Linked DNA regions of Homo sapiens: all the other regions are linked to region 1. The links are contacts of gene promoters, found by promoter capture Hi-C in blood cells and fetal thymus (Javierre and others, 2016). All regions are on one chromosome and are shown on one strand. Each heading gives the region's core, a stretch centred on a gene start or on the middle of the fragment in contact. The rest is flanking DNA. Distances are from core to core; before and after follow the strand shown. Region 1 holds the start of KDM3A (lysine demethylase 3A). Region 2 holds the start of RNF181 (ring finger protein 181). Region 3 has its middle 12 kb from the start of GNLY. Region 4 overlaps ST3GAL5 (ST3 beta-galactoside alpha-2,3-sialyltransferase 5).

Region 1 (2,912 bases), core at 199-2,698:
CCCACACCCACCCACCGGCTCATCACAGACAACCAGGAACCCACTCCTGCCCTGACCCACCATATACGGACAAACACCCATCCTAATACGCCAAACAGAACTTAAGCTCCTCCCTCTACACTCACTTCATTTTTAACAAGTCTGAAAGTTTTTTTAAAAGTTGAGTGAATAAATTAACAGGAACAAACAAACAAAACCAGCTGAAAGTACTTCCAAGCACTAACCTTCAATTCTTAATGACTCCAAACGTCACTTACAGGCCCTACCTAACGCTAACAAAAATACTCCTCCTCCTCTGCAGTAAAGATGAGACAGTCCTGGTGGGACACAGCACCGGCATTAATGAAGCGTGTCTGAACAACCCTAAGCCCATTATTAAAGCCAGGCAGCCAGGAGCTGTGGGCCAAACACAACTCGGCTCTATACAACCATTCCAAAGACTTTCAAGATCTAGCTTCCTGCACCTTCAGATCATATGCCAACTTTCTGGTCTCCGTTTTCAGAAAACGGAAGGAGGGAACCGATGGTCGCGTTACCACGGTAACTGCGAAACGTCCGGTGGCAGAGGCCCGGAGCCGCCTGTACCTTCAGATCCTTCTTGGTAACGTCGGTGTGGGAAACAGCTCGAATGGTCCCGGAGAGCCAGGGCCACTCGGCGACGCGCTCCACGTCCCAGCTGTCGTGGCTGCCATCGCTGCCGTCGGCTGCGGACAGACTGAGAAACCTCCTCCCCACCAATACCGGCCAACTTTCTCCGAGCGTGAGCACCATGGTTTCCACGCCTGCAGGAAGAGCTCCTCCCTGCAAAAACACAAAAACAAAATGCGACGGGGGCGGCCGGTGGGAGGGGGCCGGGCGGAGACAGCAGGGAGGGCGGGCGGAGGGCGCCGAACCCGCGCGAGGACGCGGCCCCGGGCGGACCCGCACCGAGCCCCCCTCCTGCGCCCTCCCGCCCCCCGCCGCCCTCCCCCGCCACACACCCGGGCCCCAGCGCCGCGTGACCCTCGCTCTCCCAAGTTTGGCTTTTCTAACAGCTCAAACGCAACCGCAGAGGGAGTGAGGGAAAAATTATCTGCGGCTCGAGTGGATTTGAAAGTGCTCAGCCCCCAGCCCCGAAAAGAAAAGGCCCCTGGTGCAGAGAGCCGGTCCCGGGCGGCTGGGTCCCCGCCCCGGGCGGCCCCACGGGGGAGGGTGGGCGAGCCCGCGATTCCGCACTTGCCCCGCCGCCCCGCCCCGGCGCCCAGCTCCCCGGCCCCGAACCCCGGGCGCCCGTCTCCCGGGCCTGCGCCGCTGCCAACGGGCGACGGGGCCGCGCGCTCGGCGCTTTCACCTTTCTCTCCCCTCTCCCCGCAGCCGAGGCCGCGGCGCTCTTACCCCGCCTCCCGCCTCCCTGAGTCACCGGCGGCAGCCGCCGTTTCCAGCCGCCTAGCCGACTCCAGCGCTGACTTGGTTCAAGAGCTCTCACAAGACACGCACAGCCTCCCGGACCCGCCCCCCTCGGAGCCGCTTCCGCCGCTCATTGGCTGAAACACAGGAGCTGGGCGAGGCTCCGGGGGAAACAGATCATCACCATTGGCCCCCCGGGCGAGGGCGGGGCCAGAGAAAAAAACAATTCCTTGGCTGCCTCCTCCCTTTCCCCTCCCCCTTCCGACTCCCGGGCGACCCCCATTAGGTTAAAGTACACAGAGAATAAGCGAGTGATCCCTCCGCCATAGGCCTATTCTTTCCATTTGTTGCCTCACAGTATGCAAAAAAAAAGTCCCGCGAAATCGGTTATCAACTTTGGGGCCCGGAGGAAAATTGCTGTGGCGCATAGATAAGACTGAATGGCGAGACCCTGAGCTATAAGTGCCTACTGGATTGTTCTTCAACCGCGTAGGCTGTCGACCGAAGATGAGCCTTCCACTTGGCGGAAGAATCTCACAGGAAAGGGTGAGGGCGGTGCAGGGTTAGCGGGGGAGGGCAGGGAAGAGAACGTGCGGTTTCAGGCGTACTCAGCTAGAGGGAGGAGCGATAGTGCTCTGGAGGCTCGTGCGCAGGCGCCTCGCCGAGCTTAGGCTGCTGGGCGAAATGGCTGCGGGAGGCGCAGGCGCACGTGGTACTGATCGTGGAACGTCTAAAGTCCGCCATTTTGAAGGATAAATGAAGAAAGGCGTGGAGTTACTGGATAATGACGTTCATTAAATTTAGAGCAAAAGAGACCTTTAAATACAATGTATAATGAGATTTTTTTTTCTCCAAAGTGGGATTGAGAAGGTATTCAGATACTTACAAAGAAATTTAAAGTAGTTGAAGGCCATAATGAATGATGGAAGAGATGAAAGAGAAGGTGACTTTGAAGGACAAAGGAGTTTAGAGGTGATTGTGTGCTCTGGACCTGAAGTATTTTGATTGAATGAAAAAGAAATGGAATGAAGAAATTGAAGATATGTTCATAAAGGCTAGTGTTTGACATTACATCACATTTAATCCTTAAGAAGAACTCATGCCTCCCATTTTACAAGCGTGGAAACGTATAATCAGAGAATGTTTGGAAACATATAAGGGATTATAGATGCAAATCAACTCTGGATGTTGATTTTCAATATACATATTCTGAATGTGATTTTAAGTTTTTAAAGTTAGTAACAAGAATTAAATTGGATTTATAATCTGTAGACCATTTAAAGGAAGGGGGCTGCTAAATGAGAAGAAAAAACCTATCCAGCTGAAAGAAGGCAGAAATGGGAACGAGATAAGCAAAAGAAACCAGAACATATGGTAAAAATGTTTTTCATGTGAAAAGTCCAAACATCAGTATTTACAATAAATGTAAATGGGTTAATTTCACTCACAAGTTTTAAAAGACAGTTGGGAATAAAAGGACAATCCAGCTATAAATTGACCATAAGCAAATGCTTACAAAACAGGAA
Region 2 (2,912 bases), core at 1-2,500, 850 kb after region 1:
ACAGAAAGAAGCTTGAGTACTGGGCCCAGGGCACGGTGAGAGCTAGAAGAAGAGAAGCAGTACCTTGCTTAGCCAGGGCAGAATGCAGCTGGAATGGAAAAGGTGATGGCAAGGCATCTCAATGGCAGTCTCCTCCTCCTCAAATTCCAAAAGACACACGGGGCACTTGAGCTCTTTAGGAAGGAGTGCTGATCAGGAGAGCTGCTACAGGCTCTGCCTCCCAAGCTCCCACTCCTGAAGGACACTTGCCCCCACCTGACCTGGAAAACTGAAGGACCAGACCACAGTCTGGCTTGGGGAAGGGGTGGGTCTGGCCCAAATAGCAGAAAGAATCAGTGTCCTCACCAGCCTGAGAGCCTCTGATGACTGTCCTGGGGAGGTTCTCAACCACAGTCTTGGCAGCTGGTGGAGGCAGGTGGTGGTCCCAATCTACTACCAACCCCAAGTCTTCAAAGTCCATCCTATTGAAAAGTGACCTGGGGAAGGGGATGTAAAGTCAGAACAAAGGAAAACTATGCTTTTTCTTTGTCCCCATAATCCACTGGACATTAATAAACACGCTGCCCAGCTAGTAGGAATAATAGCTACCCTTAGTAGTTAGTAGATGCTCACTAGATAAAAAGCACGATGGGAAATAGTTTACAACTGCTATCAGACCGCCCCAGCACGTAAAGTGTTTATTCCCATTTTACACATGAGGCAACAGATTCAGAGAAGTTACTCAGGCTACGCTGAATAACCTGGTAGAGCCCAGATTCCAAGACCAAGCCAGATTCCAGGTCCAGTAACAGCAGTGCCTGCTGTTACTGATGAATATACCCACTCACAGCACACGGCCCCAACCCCGCCCCCATGCCTCACCTTCTCTGAGACCTCCCAGAGCCTGCTGTCCTTCCGCCCCCACGCCCACCACTCTCCAGCTCCAATCTTTCCCGCAATCCCCTTGCCCCAGGCCGGCCCAACGGACGGCCCAAATTATCGAGATGCTCATCCCCACACCCCTCAGTCTCGCCGCCCGTACTAACACTCCAGATTACTCATCTGTCCTCCCCAGAATCCGCTGCCCCTGGTAATCCGCCTTCTCCAGCCAGCCCCAGCCCAGAAACCTGCTGGTTGGACCCTATCCCCAAGCCCCGCGCACCCACCTTGCGAGCTCCAGCAGCATGTTGGTTCGCGTCTCCTGCTCAGGGTCCGACGGCTCGCAGTCGTGTTCATCGAAATAGGACGCCATGGCTGCCCAGCCTTCTGACACAGCCCTCGGACCCTGCTCGATAGCGGCCTAGCGGCGCTGGCCAATAAACTGACGAGCTGAGAGAGGCTGGCCAATCAGAGTATCCGAGGGACGGGCATAGTGGCTCGTTAAACAGCACGGAAAGCGGAAGTACTAATTCGGCCCCCTCTCATTGGCTTGAACAAGTCAGGTGACCAGAGACTAACGCCAATGATGGAGATCTGGCTGGTGAGGAATCATTTGTTTTGGAGTCGGAGCCAAGACTGAATTCCCGGGGATTTCTGGCGCGATCGCGTCCAAGTGTCTGGTGTGTAAGGCTCTTCAGTCTGCCCTGAAGCTCAGAGGGCTTCGACAGTACAGATGCTAGAGGCCTCTGCGAGCAAAGGCGGCGCTGGCCCAGGGGTTCAGGTTCCTGCGAGCGTTGGCCCATGGCGCTTCCGGATGCGCTGTCCGGATCCCCGCCGGACACTTCTGCCCCCGCGGCCCTCTAGTTGGTTCACCAGTTTGCGTTTGATTCCTGCGCATTTCTTATGTGTTAGGCATAATAATAAAGGGTGGGGCAAGCCTCCCCAACTGAGAGAGATCTCTTTGCCGGAGAACCTGGGGCCTCAACCAGCTCATGGGACTGTTACCTTCAGCCCGTTGCTATCCCTAGCTTCTGTAAAACTGCTGGCTTGTACTAAGACCTTTTCATTCCTGGCTACACATGAATTCCCAGAGGAGAGAATGGGCGCGGAGGAGCTTTAGAAACACCCGTGTCTGATACCTTCGAAGATTCTGATTTAACTGATCTGTGGTGGGGCCTGGGCAATGGCACTTGTATAAATTATGCAGGTGAAGCAGGTTTAAGAACCACTGCACTCAATGATTTGGATGATAGGTACTATTTAGCATCTAGAACTGTTAGTCTGATGTATGTTTTACACGCTCGATCATCCCCTCAATAGACCCAGGAGCTAAGCGTCATTATGCCCTTTTTACCTCAGAAGTGGCTTGCCCAAATTTGCAGTCTGTAAGTGGTGTTGCAGACCAGCTGCAGGGCCAAGTGCTTTCCTCCATCTTTCCCAAGAGAGGAAGACGCTAATGCGCTCAGTAAAACTAACACGCTCTGTAAGGGGTGAAGCTCCACACAACTCAGGCTTATTCTGGTTTCTGTCAGTAGCGCTCACTTTACCCAGCAAGGAACTGCTTATTTTACACACTTGACCCTGAATTCCCCTTGCCACTCACACCTGAGTTTGAACTGCAGCTAAGTAGCCCAGGCAGAGGCTGCCCTGTTTCCACAGTCTTGGTGTGGCTTTATTTCCTTCTTCCATGCCTTTGCCCAATGATCTTTGCTATGGCCCTGAAGGCACTGCCTCCCTGGCCTATATGGCCCTGTAGCTTTGAAAAGCCTGAATTCAGGCTGGACATGGTGGCTCACGCCTGCAATCCCAGCACTAAAGGCAAGAGAATTGCTTGAGCCCAGGAGTTCGAGACCAGCCTCGGCAACATAGACCCCGTCGAAAGAGGGAGGGAGAGAAGACACAGGAGAGACCCCGTCGAAAAAGGAAGGAAGGGAGGGAGGGAGATGGGAATACCAAGGAGTGCTTTAAGGTCCCCATCTCTTGCTGTCACTTCCCCCATCTGCAGTCTGATGTAAAGCTTGAGGTAGATAGAATGTGGAAAGAGAAATTGAGGA
Region 3 (2,912 bases), core at 413-2,912, 740 kb after region 1:
AAGAAAACAACTTCGGAATTAGGATCCTCATACAAAATGTGAGAAATAATCCACAACTTTAAAAAAAGAAAAGAAATGCCCCATCCCTAAGCACACTTTTGAAATACCCACAGTGAATTCAAGCAAATCTGCCCAAACCTGGTCCAGGCCGCAGGACACCTGCTCCTGGTGGGTGGGTCTCAGGTCCCCCAGGACTTGGAATGTCATCCCTGGGGTGGAGGGTGGACAGAGCTTATTGAGGTCCCAAGCCAGGCAAGGAGCTGGGCAGGTTCTCGGGCTCTGCCCCTTCACACTCAGATCTCCCCGACCCAGGGCCTGGTGGGGCTTACAAAGACGCACAAAGTCATGCGTGCAGGCTCTCTATCTGGGGCTGGAGAAGCAAGAGGCTCCATTTGAAGCAAGAAACAGAGACCCACTCAACATGGCTAAAAAGGGGGGTGAGAGGGGGGCAATGGGGCCCCACTGTGGGACCTTGTGTCCATCTAACCACAGAATAAGAGGCTCAGACACAGGAAATCAAGATGACGGCAGTCACTTCCCCTGTTAGTGTCCTCATACTACCAGTCCTGCTCCCATGAGTGGCAGGAGAGGGCAAGAGGCACCCACGGGGGGCGTGCTGGAAGTCTGTTGCAAGAACCCCAGGGTTTTCGGCCTGAGCAAGGGGAAAGCATATCTCACTTAGGTCACCATTTTTCTACGGGTAAATCTCCATCCAGTTCCTGATTCTGTCAGAGACATCTCTTCCTATTTGGAAGTACCACAGTGACAGTACCCACCTGCCAGCACAAGCTGTGCTGGGAATTTGGCACTGCCTATTCCTCTGCCTATCTTCTTTTGGAGAATTATCTGGCACCTACTTTGTACAGTCTTGGTGGAGAGTAAACCCAGCATCCGCCATCCCATTCCTAAGACAAAAGGGTCTTCCAGGTGCCCTGCCGCTGCCTGACTTTCCTCTCGCCATCTTACAGCAACCAAAGGCAGGCATGAGAACTAAGCTTGGACTTGCTTTCCTAGGAATGTGACTATGGAGTAAGAAACACAAGGACAGAAGGAGTGGTGGAAGCTCATTCATCCCAGTAATGGCACCTAGGCAAGACTGTGGAACCGTCCCTGCTTCCAAAACCATCTGAGCTGCCTGGCCCCTGTCTGTTTAAGCTCTGTTCTAGTCCTTCCCTTCCATCCTGTGGCAGCCATGGCCGCCCTGTCACTTCCCTTGTCTTAATTTAGGCTGAGTCCATTTCTGCTTCTTATCATCAATGAGCCTGGCCTTATACGAGCTCATCCTGAGGAAGAAAGAATTCCTATTTCCCCTTCCGAGGGAAGACCAAGGTGGAGCCTAAAGAAAAAATATGACCTTCCTACCCTGAGGGAATAAACTTGCTATGATTCTTAGCCGAAAAGAAGTCTACATAATTTGCTAGGCCTAACCAACAGCCAGTTGGTAACTTCTAAGCAGAACATGGAAAACCTGAGTGTGCTTGGCAGAAAGTTAGGACACCTGTTATGAAAAGGGAAGAGAGGAGTGGAATTTCAAGTGGTTACTCAACTCACCCACTCTCTATTGCATCACTCCTCAGACTTGTGCTGGGAACATTGCAGGGTCAAGCCCATTGCCTCACAGGATGAAGGAAATGGTCAACACTGTCAGGGACTTGGTTTTCCTCCCCCCAGCCATTTCCAGTCCTGTGCAGAGCATTCTGGTCCTGCTATTCCTCAAGGATATGTGCCCAGATTATTTACCCCAAGTTACAAGGGAGCTCAGGCCTCCATTCTTTGGAGAAAGGTGGATTTGTGTGGTGGTTCACAGCTAAGACTGCCTGGATTCAAATCCCAAATCTGCCAAGGCAATTATGGGGACTGAGCCCCCAACCTGTGGGATCTGACACTGTCTCCAGATAAATAGCGTCAGAATTGAGTTGGAGGACACCTAGCTGGTGTCCACTGCGGAACTGACTGCTTGCTTGCTGGTGGGGAGAAACAGCCACGTATTTAGGAGTCAGAGAAGTCTTCTGTGTTGATTGTTGTTGTGTTGGTGTAAGAGCAGAGGAAAAACATGGTTTGTTTTTCCATAAAAGGCATTGTTGAAAACAACAGAGCAATCAGCCAGGAATTAGCGTAGTTTAACGGATAGCTGTGGTCAGAGAAAGAAATAGATAAGAGAGCCCCGCCAAAACCACTGTCATTACAGGATGACTGTGGGTACACTCAAGGCAACGCTCCTTAAGGTGCAACATCAGAGGCTTCACACTGTGGCAGGTGGGGGAATTCACTAAAATAATCCAACCAGTCACCAAACAACAAAACAAGTAAATAACAGTATCAAGCTTGGGTAGGGGCAGGGGGATGACCGGTAGCCAGATATGTGACAATATATTGTCTAAAAAGCCCAGTTTCCCAGAGAAACTTAAGAGCTATAAAAAGAAATAAAAGAGTGATCCATACACACACACACAAAAAAAAAACAGGAACAGAAACTGCCTGTGAAAGCAACCAGATATCAGATTTAACAAAGATTTCCTAGCAACCATTATAAATATGTTCAGAAATAACTAAAGAAAACTGTGATTGAAGAAGTAAAGAAAGATATGATGATAATGTCTCATCAAATAGAAATATTAATACAGAGATAGAATTATTCTTAAAAAGAACCAAATGGAAATTCTGGAGTTGAAAAGTACAATAACTAGTGGGGCACGGTGCCTCACACTTGTAATCCCAGCACACTGGGAGGTCGAGGCAGTCAGATCACCTGAGGTCAGGAGTTCGAGACCAGCCTGGCCAACATGGCAAAACCCCATCTCTACTAAAAATACAAAAATTAGGCTTGGTGGTACGCGCCTGTAATCTCAGCTACTCGGGAGGCTGAGGCAGGAGAATTGCTTGAACCCAGGAAGCAGAGGTTGCAGTGAGCC
Region 4 (2,912 bases), core at 138-2,637, 560 kb after region 1:
TACTCCTATTTGATCAAAAATGGGTTGTATAATTAAAAACTGTTATGTCTGTTGGGGAGCCTGCCCAAATGCTGGTTTCCCAGAATTTCAGAGCCAACAGTAAAAGAGATGTGAGTGGGGTGTAAAAGAAAATTATATGTTTTAGTTAGACCTGAATATATGTTGTTGGTTTTAGAAATGGAAATGTAACTTGTTCTGAGTTTTAAGCAGCCCAAACAAAATCTCCTTTTGTCTCCTGTACAATTCCTCCCTCTCCTTCCAACCCTAAATTGCCAGGTCCTGCCAAACTCCGGGTTGTCACTGTCCCAGTCACTGTCCCTCCAGTTCCTTTTCTAGGGTCATTATTTTCTGATTTGGGGCTTTCTATGACTCCTCTGGTTCTTCTGTTCCTATAAGACATACAGGATTACTGAATACCATGGGTTATTGGAAAAAACTGCCTAGCAAATTCCCTATCTTCCCTTCCCATCCACCTGGACAGCTGTTCCCTGAAGAATATTTCTAAGATCCTATTTGGTGATATCACTTTTATAGTCCAAAACCTTAAGAACTTTCACCTTATGCTTTCTGCGGCAGTGGGATCTTCATTGTTTTAGAAATTGCCCACAAACTTTCCCATCATCTGATACCCTGTGTTCCCCATTCTGCTCAAGTTTAGTAAAAGGCCCATATGTTGGAGCCTTTGGGTACTGGGTCCCAGAATTGCTTTTTGTTAACTGTCAGTTCTGCTGACTTTCACTTTCTCCTGTTAAGTATTATTTATTCAGCCCAACTACTTGTATTTCCTTTGGGTTAAGAGGGAAATGTTCCATTAAACATTTAGCTTCTAGATTTTGCCTTATTTGGGGTATTCATGGGGTTGCCACAGAGTTGTTCTCTCATAGCAGATTCTGCGTGTATAATGTGCTGTCACACAGGCCCACCACAGGAAAGCTATTATGTAAAAGCTTGATGGGACCCCAGGGGGAGGGGCAGTTCTAGGGGCAATTTCTTCAGTTTACCCCTAGTGTCATGTCTTGCTCCCTCTGGCCTCTTTCTCTTTGAGGGACACCCCTACCTTCACCATTAAATCATTTTGAGAAACAGTAACATTTGAAGCCTTCTTGCATACCTTCTCCCCTGCGACTCCCCTCTTTAGCCACCTGAATTTGTTACACAGGATGGGTCTTGGCTGGCCCAGTGCTATAATAATAGCCCCTCCTGGCTTGGGCACCAAGTCCTGTGGCACCTTCCTCCTCCACATCTCTTGGTTGGCCACCTTCCGGCCTTTCTGGCTGTGGCTCAGCTCCTCCGTCACCCCTCACTGCACTGATCTCAGTGGTCTTTTGATTACCCTGTCCCTTGGCCTCTTTCATGCCAGTATGAGCTCACCACTCTCCTACTTAAGAACCACTTAGGGCCATCCTCCTTTGTGTAACATAAGAGAGCCTGGTTCCTTCCTAGCTGCGTCTTCTGCCCACTGTTCCCCAGGCCCCTGTAATCTGGCCCGAGCACACACCTCTCTCTGTGTGTCTTGGCATTACCTTCCTTCTGTCTGGAATGCCGCCTCCTCTCTCTGTCCTGTCTCCAGAGTCTTAGTCATTCTTCGAGGACCCATTCATACATAACCTCCTCAGGGAGGCCTCCCTGATTTCCTCTGATGGAGCCTGTGGTTTCCTGCCCAGGATGCACAAGGTCTACTGTAGCTCCTCTATCACAGCGTTATTTGGTATTTCGAGTATTTGGGCATTTTCAGTTTTCCTAGCTGGATTATTCATTTAAAGAGGAAAGCGGCTGTGTCTTATTTATTTTTATATTCCCAGTGCTTGGTGTATGGAAGAAGCTTATGAAATTTTTATTTAAAGGATTGTTAGGTAAACAAAGAAAATTAGACAACCATACAGACCAGCCCTTCTCAACTGAGGTTCTACAAGAGACTTTTGTCCCAATACTGTCAGGCGACCATTGTATGTTATGAATTAACTTCTCTCCTTGCTTCTGGAATGATTCTAGTTATAGATCATTCCTGGGAGAATTGAGAAAAATCTGTTCTTTTTTGTAGGACTTCATTCCCGAGTGGAATGCACCTTGAATGAGGCTGGTGTAGATAGCATGACCCCCGTCATGATAGTATATCTATGCAAAGAGCAGAGGCTGACAGAATACAGACCAGAATGTTAACAGTGGGTATCACTGGGTTGTAAGATAACAGTGATTTTTAAATGTTCTGTTCTTATATTATTTTCTGAAATTTCTACTTGTGTCCTAACAGGGTTTTTAAAATATTTCTTGGGTAAGGCAAATCAGAGTTTCTAAACCTGGTCATCAGTTGAGAGTAGAGTTCTTGTTTTTAAATGTAGCTGCCTACATTGTGCCACAGTGAGCTGGGAATCACCAAGCTGAGCCGTGCAGCGTTGCCCTTGGAAAATCAGGCATTGGTGTGAGGATGGCTCCAGCTGTTAGCTCTCTGGACCTGGGTGTCTCTTCTTGCTGCCACTGGACACTTTGTGAATTGAAGGGCTAAGTTTCTAGCAGACATGGAAGCACCAATAGAGAAATTACCATACTCCCAACTCATATATACTGTATTCTCAAAAGAAAATCTAAAGGTTATTTTTTTTTCTTAATAGCTAAGAGTGAACATAAATGGGGAAATTAAGTCTGATAGGAGTCTTACATGTTAATTTTTGTTCATCACCTACTGTTTTATCCAGCCCTAGTTTCATTCCTGAGGTTTGAATTTGTTTGACCTCACAGAGTCATATCCTTCTCCTGCAAGAATCTACTGGTGGATACTGAAACAAGTAGATTTGATGATAAACAGGATATTTACTTAGTCTGTAAGTATCTCCCATCAAGTCACTTATTAATTACGAAGGGAAAATAGTCAACTCGACAGTGGAAGAACCTGGCATCTACCACCTTAACCCTTA

The links. The method cuts DNA at HindIII sites, captures the fragments that hold promoters and counts their contacts. A CHiCAGO score of 5 or more calls a contact.
Region 2: the fragment with the promoter of RNF181 here is called in contact with the fragment with the promoter of KDM3A in region 1 in 7 of 17 cell types (naive CD8 T cells, fetal thymus, total B cells and 4 more); the score reaches 11.7 in naive CD8 T cells.
Region 3: a fragment that was not itself captured here is called in contact with the fragment with the promoter of KDM3A in region 1 in 1 of 17 cell types (total B cells); the score reaches 6.1 in total B cells.
Region 4: a contact is called between a fragment that was not itself captured here and the fragment with the promoter of KDM3A in region 1, in 1 of 17 cell types (naive CD4 T cells). The highest score is 5.8, in naive CD4 T cells.

The regions. Positions count from the first base shown.
Region 1 is chr2:86,439,907-86,442,818 of GRCh38, reverse strand. KDM3A (lysine demethylase 3A) reads right to left here and starts at 1,448. Exons shown (of 26, transcript NM_018433.6): 1 at 1,375-1,448; 2 at 586-801. The coding sequence starts at 771. RefSeq lists enhancers at 605-664, 1,655-1,734, 1,815-2,014, 1,836-2,379 and silencers at 865-914, 1,135-1,524. The HindIII fragment of the contact is 3,261 bases long and covers 1-2,912 here.
Region 2 is chr2:85,594,083-85,596,994 of GRCh38, reverse strand. RNF181 (ring finger protein 181) reads right to left here and starts at 1,250. Exons shown (of 5, transcript NM_016494.4): 1 at 1,146-1,250; 2 at 346-476; 3 at 64-173. The coding sequence starts at 1,231. RefSeq lists a silencer at 1,219-1,358. The HindIII fragment of the contact is 2,864 bases long and covers 14-2,877 here.
Region 3 is chr2:85,704,430-85,707,341 of GRCh38, reverse strand. No RefSeq gene overlaps it. Among named protein-coding and RNA genes, the nearest start is that of GNLY, 12 kb to the right of the region's middle. RefSeq lists an enhancer at 1,881-2,382. The HindIII fragment of the contact is 1,329 bases long and covers 998-2,326 here.
Region 4 is chr2:85,877,568-85,880,479 of GRCh38, reverse strand. The region is part of intron 1 of ST3GAL5 (ST3 beta-galactoside alpha-2,3-sialyltransferase 5); the gene reads left to right. Among named protein-coding and RNA genes, the nearest start is that of ST3GAL5, 10 kb to the left of the region's middle. The HindIII fragment of the contact is 875 bases long and covers 950-1,824 here.